Linked DNA regions of Homo sapiens: region 1 is linked to region 2. The links are contacts of gene promoters, found by promoter capture Hi-C in human tissues and cell types (Jung and others, 2019). All regions are on one chromosome and are shown on one strand. The core of a region is centred on a gene start or on the middle of the fragment in contact, and the rest is flanking DNA. Distances in the headings are between cores, read along the strand shown. Region 1 has its middle 61 kb from the start of MVB12B. Region 2 holds the start of MVB12B (multivesicular body subunit 12B).

What was found. The method cuts DNA at HindIII sites, captures the fragments that hold promoters and counts their contacts. A contact is called where the count stands out against the background at its distance.
Region 1: a contact is called between a fragment that was not itself captured here and the fragment with the promoter of MVB12B in region 2, in 1 of the 25 tissues and cell types used here (lymphoblastoid cells).

Annotation. Positions count from the first base shown.
Region 1 is chr9:126,264,399-126,267,283 of GRCh38, reverse strand. No RefSeq gene overlaps it. Among named protein-coding and RNA genes, the nearest start is that of MVB12B, 61 kb to the left of the region's middle. The HindIII fragment of the contact is 5,437 bases long and covers 1-2,885 here.
Region 2 is chr9:126,325,483-126,328,182 of GRCh38, reverse strand. MVB12B (multivesicular body subunit 12B) reads right to left here and starts at 1,354. Exons shown (of 10, transcript NM_033446.3): 1 at 1,173-1,354. The coding sequence starts at 1,253. RefSeq lists an enhancer at 137-788 and a silencer at 1,230-1,369. The HindIII fragment of the contact is 8,205 bases long and covers 1-2,700 here.

The sequences.
Region 1 (2,885 bases), core at 91-2,590, 61 kb after region 2:
GGTTGGCCCACAAACATCACTCTCGTTACCTTGTTAGAAATGCAGAATCTGCCGGGCACGGTGGCTCACGCCTGTAATCCCAGCACTTTAGGAGGCCGAAGTGGGTGGATTGCCCTAGGTCAGGAGTTCAAGACCAGCCTGGCCAACATGGTGAAACCCTGTCTCTACTAAAAATACAAAAATTAGCTGGGCGCGATGGCAAGCGCCTGTAATCCCAGCTACTTGGGAGGCTGAGTCATGAGAATCATTGAACCCAGGAGGCAGAGGTTGCAGTAAGCCGAGATCACGTTATTGCACTCCAGCCTGGCCGACAGAGTAAGACTCTGTCTTAAAAAAGACGCGGAATCTTAGGTCTTACACCAGCCCACTGAATTAGAATCTGCTTTTTATCAACATCCCTCGGGATCTGTGTGCACATGGACACGCGAGAAGCACTGCTCTAGAAGGAAGGCTTCTTAGCCTTAAGCAGTTTCAGAGCAGGAGGCATCGGCAACAGGACTGGGGTAGGGTTTTGAGAACACCAGCTCCAAGTCATGATGGAGGCTGTGTCATTAGATAGAGCCCACGTCCAGTTCATCACTGAAGTTCCAGAAACGGCAGCTTCTATGGGACAGCACTGGAGGGAAGGAAGGTTACTGCAGATAAATCCTGCCAATGGTTAGCAGTGGAAAGAGGGATAGTGACACAGAAGACTTGAGTTTTTGTTTTCAGTGTTTCTGTACCATTTGTATTTCCTAGCCCTGTGTGTGTGCATGCATGTGCACACACAATAGGGGTTAGCAAAGATTATGTTGATGGTGAGATTATGGGATATTCTTTAACATTTTCTTTATTAAAAAAATCTAACAAATGGTAATTTTTAAAAAGCAATATACAAGCAAAAGCTATGAGAAATAACAAGATGAATTTGGCAAAGTCACAATCTTAATAGGGTACCTTAATATTATTGCATTGCTTAGTCTTTGTCAAATCAAGTAGGCAAAAAGAAATAAAAATATGAGAGATATGAATAATTTCATTAATAAGGTTATTTACTAGATACATTTCAAAATCGGCAATCTACAAATATAGAATATATAATCTTAACACGTTCCAGTTAGCATTTTAAAAAAAAGTAATCATTTTTCTAACCCACAAAGGAAATGTTAATAACTTTCAAAAGATAGGAAGTTTAAGCCACAAGAGAGCAGAGAACATATCTGTCTCATCACAACTCGGTCCTCAGAGTCCAGTACAGTGGCTATACAATTGAGTAGGTTCTCAATTAGCATTTATTGCTGGGAGAAGGCTGTATTTTCTTGCATGCAATAAAACAAAAAATTCATAACAGAAGTGTAAGCAAATAAAAAGCTTAAAGCATTTGGAAAATAAAATAAATTCTTTCAAAATAGCCTTTAAAATCAATGAGATATCAATTGCAACTCGATATGATTTTTCATGGAATTTTACAAGCTGGTTCTAAAATTAATATGGAAGAACAAATGTACATGAATTGACCAGAGGAATATTTAAAAGAATCTATTTTTGTTCTATAAGAGTCATAATTTTATAAAATAATAGGAATTAAAAGGGTGTGATATTGGTGCTGGAGAAGGCAATTAAATGAACAGAACTGAGTAGAGTTCAGATATACCGTGTTCACTGATTTATGAATTTAAATAAGATACAATGCCAAATGCTTGAGTAAACTATGTAGTGTTCAATAAATGATATTGGAAAAATTGTATACTATTTGGAAAAAATAAAATTAGATCCTACCTCACACTATCCATAAGAAAAAGTTCAATAAATTAAAATCCTAAGAGCAAAATGTAAAACAATTGTATTAGAAGAAATGTAGGAGATGTAGGAGACTTTAATATCAACTTGGGGCACAGGCAGCTTCTTAGATAAGGCACAGAAACCAAAAGCCATAAACGCAAAGTTTAATAAATTTGACTACACTATAAGTCATAATTCTGCATGATAAATGACACTACAAAAGATTTTGAAAAATGACAAGTGTGCCAAAAATATTGACAACCTATTTAAGAGACAAAGGACTAGGATCAAGATGAAAGGACTCTTACAAATCAGTGAGAAAAAAAATCCAGCAATCTAATAGAAAATGGACAAAGGATGTGGATAGGCAATCCACAGAAAAGGAAATTAATAATGGTCACTAATCCTATTTTAAAAGATGCTTCATTTTACTAATAATCAGGGAACTTGCTGCAAAGTAAAATAAAGAGATACTATTCTTCACTCATTACCTTAGCAATTTTTTTAAGTTTGAATATAATAAGTGTTGGCAAGATGGGGGTAATACATTCATACATTATAAGAGCAATATAAAGTTTGTATAAAATGTACTCAAAATGGCATTCCCACTTTCAAGGGCATTTGGGCAGGACTGAGATGAAAAACTGTACACTGTGTAACACAATTCCATGTCTTTGCTACCTTAGAGCAAGAAACATTGTCAAACATTCCTAAGGCAGCTTGTACATGCTGTCTGCTGCAGCATTCTCTATAATAGCAAAACTTGGAAATAATCTAAGTGTCCATCAAACAGAATGTGATTCAATAAACTATTTTAAATCCGTACTATGCAATACACTGTAATCATTAAAATGAATCAGATTGATATATAGATATTGACAAGAAAAGATGCTTATTACCGATGGAAAAAAGAAAGATGCAGGAAAGTATATACAGTAGAATGTATGTTTAAAAAAATTTCCTTCTCTAAGCTCATCTATATGAATGCCTAGAAAATCTTGCCATGCCATTCAATATAGCAAATAGCAAACTGAGATGACGTGGTACCCCTTTTTCTGTCACCTAGAATCCTCCTAGAAATCCTGGATCAAATATTCCATAATGCTTTCAAAGTACGGGTTCTA
Region 2 (2,700 bases), core at 105-2,604:
GATTTCTAACAAGCAAGAAAGGTGTCACCATCTACTGTAACTAAACATCCTAGCACATTGAGTTTTTCAGTTAGTCAAGGCTTCACAGAGCTTATTTTTTAACTCTCTAAGCTTTCCTGGTGCCGCTGATAAGATTTCCCAGCCCTGTTAAAACGAGATGAGATCCAGCCAGCTGTCGAGAAATGTACAATGAGATTATACTGAGAAGGAACCACGAGAGACAAAGGCCCCTAAGAGGAGCTGGTCTGCTGTCTGCTTTTGTGGCAGCAATCGGAGTGGGCTCTGGTTCTTGGGTGGGGGCAGGAAGCAGGGAAGGGGCAACCACCATTTGCCTTTTGCCCTCCTGTGGTCTTCCTCAGTGCCTTGTGCAAGAGGTGTTGAGGGGCAGGGAACAGAAGAGTCTCATCTTTCATGGTGAGAAGGGCTGCTGATTTAGAACAGTTGTGTGTTGGTAACAAAGAGGACAAAAGATGCTCTTGGGTCTACCCCGTTCCCTGGTGCCTGCCTCTGAGGATGTGATGTCCCCTGGTGCCATGCCTCAGCTCTTGTCCCAGCCCCTGCTCCTCCCGTCTCGCTGGTGTTGGAGTCACTGTAGGGTGCTCGACGTGCCCACCATGTTCCTGGATGGGTGCTCTGGGTCTCGGGTACCCAGGCTGGGCATGTCACCTTCCAGACAGGTGCCTGAGGGTTTAGGTGTCCTCTCTGCTGTGCCCAGGTCACAGAGGCAGTGATGCTCCTGGGGCAGGTGCACGTTGGTCTGCACCCACGTGACCAGAGAGAGCAGGACCCCAGGCCAGGCCGGTCAAACGATTGACTGTTCCCAGTCTGTGCCCAGGTGGGCCGCCTCCCTCTCACGCGGGCAGAGGTGGCTCTCGGCGCCCCTCACCTGCCCGGGCCTTGGGGGCGCTGCTGGCACTCGGGTCCCCCAGCTTCTCCCGCCTCTCGCCGCCAGGCCGAGCCCGGGCACCGGCAGCCGCGGCGCGCTCGGGGCTCTGCAAAGGCCGCCCGGGCCTGTCCCCGCCGCGGGCCGGGCACGGAGCCCGCAGGCCTCGGCGCGGCCCGGCTCCTCCCGTCCGCCCGCCCCTCGGCCGGGGGCCCGCGCCCGCCCGCCCGCCCTCCCGGCTGCAGGGCCGGCTCCGCCGAGCCTCCGCGGCGCCCGGGCCTCACTTAACTGTTCCCCGCTGGGGCGGCGGCGGCGGTGGCTGCGGCGGCGGCGGGTCCCGGCTCCGTCTCACGCAGAAGCAGCTTCTCATCGCCCGGGCGGCGCGGGAGGGGCCGGGCCCGGGGCCCAGGCGGCAGGAGCCGGCGCCGCAGCTCGAGCGCGAGCCTCACCGAGAGCGGCGGCGGCGGCGGCGGCGGCGGAGGGGCGGGGCGCGGCCTGGCGGCGGCGGCGACAACGGCAGTGGCGGCGGCGGCTCCCTCCGCGGGCCGCGGCGGCGGGCCGGGCTCCGGGCCTCCCGGCGCTGGCGCTGGTTCAGGATCGGGGGAGGCGCCCGGCGCCCGAGGCTGGCTCGGGCGGGAGGAGGGAGAGGGAGCCCTGGCGTCCCGAGCCCGCGCCGCCGCCCCGGCCGGCACCCCGCCTCCCCAGCCTCCCCCTCGACCCAGCCCGTCAGCCGCAGGCAGGGCCCCGGTGCGCCCACCCGGGCCTCCCCGAGCCCGCCGGCGACCCCAGTCCAGCCTCAGGCCCCCGGGAGCCCACGGCCTCTAGAGCCTGGGGCATCGATGGTCCCCGCCCCCAGGCTGGTCTTTTCCAGGGACCCTCAGCCCACTTAGCTCTCGTAGGCCTCGCTGTACGCAAGACCGGTCTTCCGCTCGGCTGCAGATCCCTGGAAGCCCCCAGGCCCTCAGGCTAGAAGTTGGACCCTTCTAAGGACTCTCCGCCCACCCAGCCATTCTAGGCTTCACTGAACCCTAGAATCCTTCAGCTCATCTTCCCCCACCCCCCAGCTCACCTAAGGTGAGCTCAGCCAGTCGTCTCAAACTAACCCCAATTGCCTAGCAATTCTCTTATATTAGTTAGATGATTTATCCCCAGAAGCCTAGAATCAGGTTTATGGGGCCAGCCTCAGGCAAGCATCTAGAAGAAGTTTTTAGCAGGAGTCCTACCCTGCAGTACTTGGGGAAGGCATAAGCCAAGGATAAAATGGAGCTGGATGGTTGGGGGAGGGTCCAGAGCTTGACCCTCAGCTAGAGTGGCTGGTAGGAAAGGCGGACTCTGCGCCTTAACCAACCATGCCCCCCACACCGCCCAGCCAGGCACCCCAGGCAGAGGCCAGCGTGTGCAAGATTTGAAAGGTTTCCTGCCAGGAGGCTGGAGCATTCGTTAGGACTTGAGGACCATGCAGGAGTGATCAGCATTGATTTGCTAATGCATTGAGTCTCATTTTCACACATTCTAGGCTTTTCCATAATAGCTGTTTGATCCTAAAGAGAAGGGTGCCAAGCAGAATGGGCTGTCGGGGGAAACATCCTGTAGGGAAGCCATGCACGTGTGCATTCCCAGTGTCTTCACTACTCAGAAATGCCATGGGTTCAGATGGCTTTACAGCAAGCCTTATCCTCCCATCAGGGCACAGATCATCCCTATGTTACTTAAACTGTTACACAGGAAAAAATAAACAAAAGAAACAAAAATTTTTATTTCATTTCCCAAGTTTAGCATAACCCTGATACCAAAATCCAACAGACAATACCAAAAAG